Regions from separate parts of the Homo sapiens genome. Here region 2 is linked to region 1. Evidence: promoter capture Hi-C in human tissues and cell types (Jung and others, 2019). All regions are on one chromosome and are shown on one strand. Each heading gives the region's core, a stretch centred on a gene start or on the middle of the fragment in contact. The rest is flanking DNA. Distances are from core to core; before and after follow the strand shown. Region 1 holds the start of PDE7B (phosphodiesterase 7B). Region 2 holds the start of LOC105378012 (a long non-coding RNA gene).

Region 1 (6,379 bases), core at 2,208-4,707:
AATTCTTCTTTCGTTTTTCTTAACCTTTCAACTTTCTACTACACTCAACCTTCTTTTGTTAAAGACACAAATGATTACACATTCTAAGTTTAAGGGTCAATTTTCAATCTTCATTTAAGTGTCATTTTACACAGCTGATCATTGAAATAGTTAATTTACCTTCTAAGGCACCATTCTCTCTTGGTTTTTCTTATACTTTCTGGAGGCTCCTTGTCAGCCTTCCTTGCTAGTCCTTCTTTATATTCTTGACAGCATAATCGTGGACTGCCTGCAGCTCTTCCATCTGCATTCATTCCCTTGGTAATTGTATCTAGTTTCATGGCTTTAAGTTCTACAGGTATACAATGACTTCCAAATTTATATCTACAGCCCAGAACTGTACCCTAAACTGCATGCTTATATATTCCACTGCCTAGTCAACATCTCCATGTAGATATCTTACAGGCAAGGTTAACAAATTCAATATCAAACTTCATCTTCCCCACAAAACCTGCTTCTCCCGCCATCCCTTGGTCAGTGCTAGCTCTGTTCTTCTACTTGATGGAACCCCAAATTTTGGAGATGTCATTGGCTCCTCTCACTAATCTCCCTCCTTTGTACTTAGCACCCAATCCATTTAACAAGTCTTATTGTCCTTAACACCAACATATAATTGGAAGTAAACCACTTCTAGCCACCTCCACCAAAGCATCGTGGTAGACACCACTAGGATGTCTGGCTTGTTTATTGCAATATATCGTTTATTAGACTCTCTTCTACCTTGACCTCCACATGGTAGCCAGAGCGATCCTGTCAAAAAGTAAGTCAGATTGCCTCATTCCTCTCCTTAAAGCCCTGTTTCATGCAGACAGGAAGCCAAAGTCCTTACAATGACCTAGAAAACTCTCCTTGATCTGTCACCTCTGCACCCATTGCCATATCCTACTACTTACCAGCCAAATACTCCAGTCCCCAGAGCCTTGCACTTAATGTCCTCTTGTTTAAAATGCTCTCCCTATGCCTCCCTCATCAACTTCCCCTTTGTGTCCAACATCATCTTTGCAGTGGCACCTTCTCTGCATACTCACTTTAAAATTGCAAGCCTCTATCTGACTAGTGACCCTTCCCTCTCCTGTTTCTTCTTCACAACAGTATTACCACCCGATATCCTATATAAATTTTTTATTTGTTGTTATGGCCATTCTCCTTTCAGAAGAATCTAAGTTTCGTGGGGTCAAAGAATTACGTGTTGGAGGGTGTGTATGTGTGTTATATGTTTTCACTGCATTCTCCCCAGCACCTAGAACAGTGCCTGGTACAGAGTACACAATCAAATATCTGTTGCTGTTCAGTGAAGGTCCAGAACTGTTATTTATTTCACCTCAAAACCAGGCTCTTCTCCCAGTCTTCCCCATGTCAGTAAATGGCAACTCTAGTCCAGTTTGCCCAAGCCAGGAACCTGGAAATTACTCTTGATTCCTCTCTTTTTCTCACACCTCTCATCTTCAAATACTGCCAACGCTCTCTGCAAATACACAGGCCCCCTTCCAAAATCTGGCCCTCCCACCTTCTCCACTGCTCTCACCCAAGTCCGAGCCATGATGTGCTCTCACTTAGGTTAGCACAGTGGCCTCATTTATTGGTCTCTCTGCTTCTACTCTTGCTCCCTAGGAGTCTATCTTCCACAGAGAAAAGAGAGAAATCTCTTCAGAATTCGTGTCGAATCATAGACATTCCTCAGTTCAAAACACTCTGATAGGTAGGTTTTCACCTTGGAATAAAATCTAAGTCGTGTGCATGGCCTGTAAGACATGTCCTGATCTTGTCCCAGACATACCTTCTGAAACTTATTTCTTCCCTTTGCTCATTCTCTTCCAGCCACTCTATTTCCCTTCCTGTTCCTTGGCTCTGCCAAGCACTCATGTGTTGTGGGACCTTTCCATGGCTTCATCTGCATGGAAGGTAGAGGCACACAGTACCTGCTATGTCCCATCATTCGGGCCTCCGCTCCAAGTTGCTTTATCAGAGGGCTGCCCTGATCATCTTTCCTAAAATAGCACACACACCACACACACACACATGCACGTGTACACACACACCTCATTCTCCTTACCTTATTTTGAAGCCCTCATTGCCAACTGACATTATACGTTTACTTATTTTTCTTTGACAATTTCCCTGCTTCTCCAAAATGTAGACTCCATGGGGGCAAAGAACCATCTGTTTTGTTCACTATTGTAGCTTCAACACCAAAGATAAACCCCAACAACTACAGGGATGCTTAATCCTAGCGCCTAGGCTCTTAGGGATACATAAATACTTTCTTTCTCAAAGAAACAATATTAGTATTTGAAAAAGGAATGTGGACATTCTTTAGTGTTGCGCCCACCCCTAAAACATAGTCTGCCTCGGAGCAATGGAGAAATCTGATTGGCCCCTGTGGGTCCCATGCCCCCTTGTGGCTCTGTCGTGGGAATGGGGCTGGGGGCAAAGTCCATGCAATCCATAGAAGATAGAGGAAGGAAAGTTCCGCCCACCGCCCACCCAAAAAAGGTCTGTTAGCAGAATTTAGGATGGGGATGGGGAAAAGGAGGAGGATGTGGGGGAGGCAGAAACAACAGATGGCAACTATGGGGATTTTTCCAGAGTGGGAAGTGTAACCCAGGGATAAGCTGGGGTCCCTGGTAAAGGAAGTATCCCTAAATAACTGGACCTTCATACTCTTTGGGAAAGAACAAGCTGAGGCCCCAGGCACACCTGCATGGCATCACCATAGCCTTGCTTCTTGAATGACTCCTGCTGGCATCAGGAGGCATCTCCCTGGCAGGAACAAGCCTGAGGCTTCACCACGGAAGCTGGAGGAAACGCAGGGACCCATGGCACAAACTGACACAGGAGTTCTATGTTTCATTGCACATCATTTTGTTCACCAGTGCATTTGTACGATTCTGCCTCTATGGCTATCAAGTTTAATTAACAACTCATTTTTAGGTAAGAGTAAAAATGAATTAGGTAAAAAAAAATAAGCAACAGCTGCCAAGTGAGCATGGAGCACATACACTCACAGATGGAAAAAATCTACATCTTGCTGCTATGATTTAGCTCAGGGTTTTATATTTAATTTTTGTTTTGTTTTGCTTTTGTTTTTATACACCTCACCACAAGGTATTTTAAATTCTTTAAATGTATTCCCGAATATAGAAAATGTTTCTTGGGCTCTCCTGAGAGTGGGGTGCCCAGGCTGACCACAGGCACACACACATTCTTCCCATAGTACAGTACTTTAAAATTAATAGCACATGCAGAGGAAAAACTAAACCCTTTGACGTCACTCTTGAAATGAGGAAACATAAACAGAAAAGGCTCCACTCCAGTAAGCTGCCAGAGTTGAAGCCGATTGGTCTCTGCTTTTCCTTGCCTGTGGCAACTGACAGCACCTCCCAGCCTAGCAGGCCGGCGGCTGCTCACCCAGCCAGTCAGTTGGTCTGGGCACTGCAGCAGGCTCGGCTCTGTCCCAGCACTTGTCTGGGAGAAAAGTGGTGTTACTCACCCAGGGAGAGTCTCTCTTTCTACCTTCCTTCTTTCTCGATCTCCTTGTGTGCTTTTGTGTTTCTTTATTTCTTTTCCTTTTTTTTCTTTTTTTTTTTTTGTTACTTAATTATATTCCTAATCCTGGATGAAGTTGCTGGATTCTGCAGCACAAGTCTTCATGAACAAGCAGCACCGCTCAGAGATTTCACGGCATTCAAAGGTCACAGAACTGCCACTATGGTTAAATGTCTTGTTTAATGGTTGAGGTATGTACAACAAATTTAAGCGGCAAGCTCAGTTTTCTTGAGAGAATAGAGTCACAGAGAGATGGCAGGATTTTTATTTAAAATGAACCTGTACATATATATGTTTTTTGTCTGTGATTGTTACTACAGCAACCAGCTTTTGAATTTCCTTCCTTTTTCTAGGCGAACTGACTAAACATTATCACTTACCCTGAATTAACCGTTTAAGGGCAGCAGGGTTTCATTCCAACCAGTGTAATGAGACTCCGGCATTTTCACTGCACTTTGAGCCCACACTGAGGTGGTCTTTAAAAAAAAAAATAAAGAATGCAATATTTTTTTTCTCCAACATAAATCTTGGAGTTGGGTAATTTTCATTTTTGGTGGGACAGGATAGGAAAATGCTGGTAAAGGGATTGGTAAGGTTTGTGGAACAGGGAAGAAGGAAATTAGTTTTTTTCTTGAGTTTTTCATGTTGGTTGATAGCAGACTTCAAGATGAAGAAATTAGTGGCAAGAAGGGAAGAAGCTGATAGTGAGACTGAAGGTAGAAAAAAATCAATAGAAGATGTCCAAAAAATGAGCTCTGAAGAAAAATCCTTCATCACCTTGTTGCATTTTTCAAAAAATGTTTTGGATTCAGAAGTCCAGGAGAGATGCAAGTACTAAGTTACATGACCAGAAATTTAGATATTATTATTTATAAAGGAAAGTAAAACTTCTTTATTACCACTGCAAATTTGCTAATTATCTTTTCCTACAATAGTTGAAAATGGAGTCAGATATTCAATTAGGGGCTTAAGTGATTGAGCCTGGGGACTAATTAATCATTTAAAAATTCTGTTCTTCATGTGCTCTAGCCAGAGTGACTATTGCAATAAGAGTAAACCTCTTTGCACCAGAGACAGGCATAGGCATTCATATACAGTAAACACACTAAATGCTGCAGGAAGATTGGCAATTCAATACAGGGCTAATGTTGTTTTCAGTGGCACATTATTATGTCTTAAGGAGGATCCCTGCTAAAAATCATTCCTATCCAAAGAGTCGGTTTTTGTAACAGCAATTTAAGTAATATATGGTTACCATGGATTTCCCTATTACCCTTCTCAAAGTTATGCAATAGCAAATAAGACAGGATTATTTGAAATCCTTACCCTGTTCCAAAATTTCTAACCGATTTTCTTAAAGTTTCTATTCTCAACATTGAGAACCTGAAAGCTTTAAAACTGGGTCATGTTAGCAGTAATATTAAGCACGATTTCAAACATGAGGTGTATTTCAAAGGGTTAAAAAAATTAACTGCATAAGACTGGAATGTACTAAGTTAAGAACTGCAAAAATATTAGCTCTGAAATGCAGAGGATGTGCCGTGAATGGACAATTGCTTTTCTGCAGCGCCTAGTGGGAAAACAAGGACTTTGTGTGTTGCAAACGCATAACTGCAGCTCCTCCATTTCCTCTGCTTTATCTTTTATTACTGGCTGGTGAAACAAAGACAGGTGTCAGTAGTTACGTCTTGATTGACATTTTCTCCAATAAAATGAAGTCACTTTTGTCTCAAGTAGAAGCCCACAGTTAACTAGTTGCAACTCCAAAAACTGTCTCTGCCTTGTAAGAATTTTTACCTGACACTGTAAGCTGTCTAATTTCAGAATGTACTCACTCTCTTGAACAACATGTGACAAAATCAGTGGTGACTATATGTCAGCAAATTAGCTGGGAGAATTTTTTTTTTTAATTAAGTTATTTAGGGCAAGGGTGGAAAAGTCTAAGATGTGTCAGGGACAGGCATTAATTTAGGGAAAATAATTACACGAGTGCATCATTTAATGCCTTACACAGGGTTCAGCACAAAGCTACTCACTGTCAGTTCTCCATAAAAACCTAGTTAAAATGTTTGCCTAGAATTTACTACCTTTCATATATTGTAAATTATTTAAATAATTTTGGTCTTTTCATGTGTTTTTGAAAAGCACTTTTGGTGTCAGTCCAGCCTGAAATATTATCTAAAAATCAAGTCAATGATACAGAGAAGGACATTTCAAACACTGACACTTTATTTTCAGCCTAAGGACATCTTAAATGCAAAAGTAAAATGACCAAGTTTCCTCAAAGTGGGAATGTACCACCTGGAAAATGCCTCAGCCTAGTAATTATTCGTCTGAAGTCTAACTTGTTGTTAGCCAGGCCCAAATCACAGGAGGAAGCTGTTTGTTGACTCACAGAAGATAGTGTTGGAAGGAATTTATTAAGTGGTAAGCTAATCCCAAAGAATACTAAAAGGGCTTTGTTTATATTAAAGAGAAGTGTCAAATTTAAGGATCAGAACAGACTTTGAAACATCTAAATGTAGAAGCTAAGAGGTAGTCTAAGTAGTTGACCTCACATTGTTGGGGTACATAATTGATTGGAAACTCTCTATCTACAGAAATTCTTATCTGAATAATCCACTATCTTATGGATTCAGCTCTGTATCCCCTCAAAAATCTACAGCTTAGTAGGTATCTATGTTCTAGGGGGTACATTTGACTGAGGAAGAAAGGACTTGGCATTTGGAAATGTGAGGTCTCTCTCACAGCACAAAGACCATCTCTAATCTCTATTGACACCTCCTCATGGCGG
Region 2 (6,379 bases), core at 1,216-3,715, 45 kb before region 1:
TCACCCTTCATATCTGATCATTGTCAATATTTGACCAAATTCCTTATCTCCCACCACCTCCCAGATGATATCTGATTACTCTGCCCTGACTTCAGCAAGAATCCTGTTAAGCTGATTTAACCAGAATCCCTTCTTACTCCTCATGTTTCCTCTTAGTAATTTTCCATCCACTGCCCCAACTTGCTTCTTGTCTATAAATGCTCACTTGTCTTTGCTGGACTTTCAGAGTCTGGAAGTCCAAGATCAAGTTGTGAGCAGGATTGGTTTAGGGGCTGGACATGGAGAATGTGCCAGTACAGTGGTCTCTGATGTCCCTTTTTATAAGGACACTAATCCTGTTTGATGAGAGCCTGTCACCATTATGACCTCGCTTAACCTTAATTTCTTCCTTAGAGGTCTCATCTCCAAACAACCACACAGGGGATTAGGGCTTCAACATATGAATTTTGGGGAGATACAAACATTTTGTCCATAGCAGTCATAAAAATGTCAGTTTGGATTAACTCTAAAATAAATAATGCATTGTTTTACTTAGTAAGAAAGAACCAATCTCTGATTCTCAAAGCTTGGGTTCTCATCAGCAACCGAGGCCATTGAGTCAAATAGAAATAATTACACATTCAAGATGTTATCTAAATATGATACAAATTGAATATTAGCGTAACCTACTGACAGAAGCTTGCCTTGTTAACAGTACTTACTTACAAAAAAAAAATTTGAGTGTCTTCTATGCAATACCCAATATATTAGGAACTGTTATTAAATGAGGTATAATGATATGATAACAACAAGCCATATGGTTACAGACATACTTCACTAGCTGTTCTGCAGGATGAGCATGAACAGTAGCGTTGTATAAACAATTTAGCATTGCCAAAATGAAGTAGTGATTTGAAGTGATTGTATGGATATATCAAAATAAAACTTGCTAAATGGAGTAAGACAGGTTTTAGCATGAATTAACGACATAATTATTTCAGCTTATACTTTAGCTACCAAGTCCTGGCATAGGTGTAATAGGATAGAGTGCTAGGAAGCACAAGCCTCTAAAAGTGAGAACTCAGATGTTCAAACACAGAAACCCAACAAGCCTGAAAAATATTGCCCTACGAGAAATTAGAACTCCAAAGAGTTGCTTTCCAAAGTTAAAATTTCTGTGGTACAACATTTTCATTCTCATGAAAATGATAACTTCTTAGAATGGATACCAAAAAATAGCAACTGGGCACAGCTGGATGGCTGCCTGGTCTTTAGTGCAAGAGTCCTGATGTTTTTCAGACAAGAGGCCAGTTGTTATTGAGTTTCAGAGAGAAAGAATTATTTAGTGCAGGTATACTCCTTACCCATTTGTGTATATGCACGTTTTATGTATAGCTCTGTTCTATAACTGAGAGCTTATGACAGAGAGTCATAAGTCTCTTGAAGAAGCAGGAAGAAGAAATGATAAAAGGGAAGCCAAGGAAAGCCCTGCCTGACAAATAGAACACCTGTCAGGTCAACGTTCCATGGGATCTAACAGTACACACTGGTGCAGGCCCAATTAGCTAGGCAAATGATTTAGGTATTAAAGGGACATAAGTCATGAGAACAGAGTGTTGGTCAAAGTCAAGTTTAAAAAGTGAGACTTTCCTTCACTAATGAAATATTTCCTAATAAATTTCCTAATAAAATATTTCCTAATGAAAAAGGTAAAGGGTATTAAGAATCTTTGTTTTTATTTATTTATGTATTAGAGACAGGGTCTCACTCTGTCACCTAGGCTGCAGTGTAGTGGTGCAATCACAGCTCACTGCAGCCTCAAACTCCTGGGCTCAAGCAATCTTCCTGCCTCAGTCTCCCAAGTAGCTAGGATTACAGGCACACATTAGCACTCCTGGTTAATTTATTTATTAATTTTTTTTTTTTTTTTGCAAGTACAGGGTCTACTTATGTTGCCCAGGCTGGTCTTAAACTCCTGGCCTCAAGCAAGCCTCCTGCCTTGGCCTTCAAAAGCACTGGAATTACAGCCATAAGTCACTACACCCAGTCAAGAATCTTTTCAAACTGATACCCGTTACAAGGAATTTTAACCACTTGGACTGCCAGTCTGATAAAACTTCTGTAACAGCACTAGCATGTGAATTTTTGTTTGTTTTTTAAACAGAGCTTTAGTTACGTAGATCTGAAGGAACGAGATCTGTAGAAAAGCCATTTGATCCAGCACTCAAATAACAGTTCTTGACGGAAAGAATGAAGTTCTAAACTATAATTATTAGCCAAAATGTCATTATACATTTTAAAAATCCCATCTTTCCAGACAAAATAGTTGGAAAAAAAGAAATGAATCCAATAAAGCATTGTCTCTAAAAAATTCATTGGTACTGCTAGCATGATTTTTAACATAATTCATTTAAGATTTTATAATAGGTAAACTGGACATAGGAATGCTGCCATGTTTATAGGCCGCTCAATAGGAAAGATGAAACTCATCAACAAAGGCAGACATATTGCAGCCACCTAACCTTGTCTGCCACATAATAGTTTCCCTATAAAGATTTGTTGATGCATTGACTGCTTGGTTTAAAGGCCCTAATAGTACAGCATTAATTTCTTATGAAGTACTTTCTAATATCTTGCATTTAAGTTTTAAGTGTAACCTTTGCTATATTATGGGACTGACTCTTTTATTGCATTAAAACTAACGGATGCATATTGAGTAATTAGCTTTGCCTTTCTTTCTATACTTTCTCTTAAATCTTTATAAGGGATAGCACGGGAACTATATTTTTATCTCCAAGTTTGCCTCCAAGTCCAGCTGTGTAGTGAAAGGGCAGCAGGAAACTTCATGAAGTATGCCTTCAGCTCAGAGTCAGAACCCGCATTCAGAACTTTGCTGGGGATGAGAGAAAGGTCAAACCTGTGGGTTAAAAGAGAAAGAGAGAGAGATGAGAAATTTACAGATTTTTATGAAGAAAGCTACAATAATTTGTGCTCTGGACACAGACGGACTTGGGTTAGGGTCCTGGCTGTACCACTTAACCTACATAGGCTTAGTTTCTATATTAATAAAGCAGGGCTGATGGTGAATATAAAGATTTTAAAGGCTCTAGAATATAGCAGGCACTCAAAAAATGTTACAGTTATTATTCCAAAGAACATTTGGTGACATAAAAACATGAGGATAAATATCATCCAGGAAAAATGGAAGATTCTGCGTAGGTGATAGTCCAAACACCATTCAGAAAGCCAGTGCATGGGCAAATTGCTTTGGAGCCACAAAAAGCTAGGAATTAATGACGTCTTGGGCTTCAAGGAAATAGTGGGGAGCTGATCTCCCACAGGTGTGGGAGCCTATCCAAACTCTCTGTTTTCCTCCGTGTCCTCTGACTGATGCCCAAATCCAACCTGGATGACTTGTCACACCTGTGACACTAGCACCCACCCAACTCTGATACTCACCAGTTTAGCAAGGCCCTCTTCCATGTTCAGGTACCTAAACTCCAGACCCCTTGGGACACACTGACTTATACTTTGGGGCACTTTGTCCCACTGGAAGAATATGGGAGTAGGGAGAATAGAGAACAATGGTAAGAGAAGCTTACTCTCCCAGCCTCATCATCTCCGGCTTTCTCTATCACTGAACCCTTTCCTCATAGACTCTCCAGGTCTCATGAGCTTGATTAGGCGACTCATGAAAAATTCTCATTACTGAAGCCTGAGATTTCTCCTTTGCCTGCCAGTCACCCTCTGTCTCTCCAGAGTCAGAACGTTTGCAATTTCCATCTCAATGATTATTTTAACAAGTGAATTAGGTTTGTTGCCCACTCTGTAGATTTAGGAAGGACCCTTATCTATGAGTGATTTCGGTCTCACATCCCAAAAGTCCACATTTCTACTTCAGCAGGCCACATCATGTTTGTTCCATGGTTCAGAATATCTGAACTTTTAGTTTAGAACTGGCTGGTGGGGACCTGGAGTTCATGCAGGCAGTCTGCTCTGGAGTCTGCGTCCTTATTCCCATTCTAGTCCACATCCCTCTAACTAGAGTGGATGGGGAGGGGAGAGGAATGGAACAAAAAAGGTAGGTTAAAGTTGGATTGAATAGAATCTTGAAAGCTAAACCAAAGAATTAGAATCTTACTATGTAGGCAGTCGGAATTCAGAGAGATTAAACAAAGTGGTTTTTGAGGAATAGTAATTGGTTGGCAGAACACAGGATTGAATAGAATAAGGAAGATATTAAAAGATTAAGAGACTGTTTAGAAGGTATTACATTAATCTAGGTTTAACAAGATGAAAACTCAGCCTAGGAGGTAACATTGGGAACTAAAAAGAAGTGATGGGCATGAGCCAGTTAACATCAGCATGACCTGGTGGGTGATTGGAGTGGAGAGTAAAAGCGATAAGTCTGGTTTTAAGAGTAGATGATGAGGAGATCTAATTACATACACACACCCATAACTAAGGAGTTGTATCTGATAAATTATTTAATCTGAACCTAAATATTTTTATTCCTTAATTTAAACCTCCTCCCTTTTTTATCTTCAGCTTAAACATTGCTGTTTAAATCCTCCTTAACACTTTACGCTTAAGACTAAATGATCCTGATATTGTTTTTTCTCATTCCTCCACTTCTTAAATACATATATATATATATGCTAATTAATGGGCAGAGTTGGTATGCATGTACTGTCTATATCTCTATAGGTGAAAGCAAAAAACGGATTCTGGAGATAAAAATAAGAATGATAGCTCTCCTTTATTGAACACTTATTATGTACCTACTTCTGTGCTGAGCTGCTCATATGTATTATCTATTGAATGCCCATAACAACCCTAAGAAATAGATACCATTATTGTCTTCATTTGCCCAGGAGGAGGCTGAGGCTTGGAGGAGTATAAGAACTTGCTGACAGTCATAACATCTGAAGGGGATTAGAATATGTCACGCCAAAATATGCCACTTTGGCATAATAATTATTTTAAGTTGAAGGCAATTGAGAAAAAGCAGACACAAGAAGAGCTCTTTTCCCTCCCCTATCTGCCTAAACATAGGGCATAAAGCTTTCTTGTGAAAGTATTTCCCCACCTTCCATATCAGGAAAGGGATAACAAACTGTACCACTGGAAATGGAGACAGCACCTAAATAAGTCTGTATAGACAAACCTTACTACATAACCTTTATCTAGCAGTTAATTTCCCCCATATATTTACCTTCCCACAATTTGCCACTCCTAGAAAGCCAAGCCCCTTTCTTTTGTGTAGTCACTTCTCCATAATTTATCACTCTTTGTTAAAATGGTGTATAAGGCCAAGTCTAGTCACTTCTTTGGGCTGTTTCCTTCTGTTTCTTCAAAGCCCATGTACATGTACAAAGATTAACATCCAGTAAATTTTGCATGCTTTTCTTCTGTTAATCTGTCTTCTATTAATTTAATTCACAGGCCCCAACTACAGAAGATAAGAGGGCATAGGAAAAGTTTTTCCTCTCTACAAGCCAAAAGTCGCAAGGCTAATATTTACTCCCCTGATTCTCTCCTCCAGAGCCCACACCCTTCATCACTACTGATAAAGGTATGATAATGAATTCTAAATTCCTTTCTTAAAATCTGCTAATTGGGTAAAGAAGTAAAGAAAAGTTTGATATTCTCCTCCATATAATGGCTTATTTATAGCTATAACTTACTTGTCAAATACAAATGCTACCGTGGTACTATTTATGTGACACGTGATCCAAAGACTGTTACCACACACTACACTAAAACATGGATATGACATATTTCCTGTGAAGAAGAATTTGGTATGATTTAGAAAATCTTGAATCATATTCAATAACTTAATTTTTTATCCAGGATATAAACATATAATTGTTTCAAGGTATAAACTCCTGTACAGAATGTCAGTGTATTATGGCACACCCCATAAAGAGACTGTAAAAAACAATTATAGTTTTATGCTCAATTAAAGAGACGGAAATTTTTAAAAGGGGCTATGTCAATCAGAAAGAAAAGTACCTAGGGCTCATTAATTTAAAGACAGTAATTGATACGCTGGCTTCAGGAGTGTTTTTCATATTATCATTAATCAACTCTTCATTTGAAAAACACACACGAGGGAATTACTGAAAGAGTAGGTATCACATTTAATTTTTTCCACTATGTTTTTCCTAGTTTCAAATATGTTTTTCAAATCTGGCATTCATGGTTGCTACTGCACTGGAATAATGGTAACAACAGGCTGATGAGAATCTTAAGTGGCACTTACTCAGTGGAGTAATTGGAAGCGGCAATGGTTATACAAATGAATGCCCCTCAGAGGGAAGAAGGAGAGATTTGCCTTGAAACTGCGGCTGTAAAAAGTTAGTGCTGGTAAGTGAAGAAACAGAAACTAAGTGATAGA

Evidence for each region. The method cuts DNA at HindIII sites, captures the fragments that hold promoters and counts their contacts. A contact is called where the count stands out against the background at its distance.
Region 2: a fragment that was not itself captured here is called in contact with the fragment with the promoter of PDE7B in region 1 in 1 of the 25 tissues and cell types used here (mesenchymal stem cells).

What each region holds. Positions count from the first base shown.
Region 1 is chr6:135,848,244-135,854,622 of GRCh38, forward strand. It overlaps PDE7B (phosphodiesterase 7B), which reads left to right and starts at 3,458. Exons shown (of 13, transcript NM_018945.4): 1 at 3,458-3,776. The coding sequence starts at 3,756. LOC101928373 (a long non-coding RNA gene) reads right to left here. Exons shown (of 3, transcript NR_187609.1): 3 at 5,793-6,379. RefSeq lists a silencer at 3,245-3,482. The HindIII fragment of the contact is 14,106 bases long and covers 1-6,379 here.
Region 2 is chr6:135,804,423-135,810,801 of GRCh38, forward strand. LOC105378012 (a long non-coding RNA gene) reads right to left here and starts at 1,749. Exons shown (of 3, transcript XR_943034.3): 1 at 206-1,749. LOC101928326 (a long non-coding RNA gene) reads right to left here and starts at 5,435. Exons shown (of 2, transcript XR_245604.4): 1 at 3,439-5,435; 2 at 2,723-2,896. The HindIII fragment of the contact is 3,688 bases long and covers 622-4,309 here.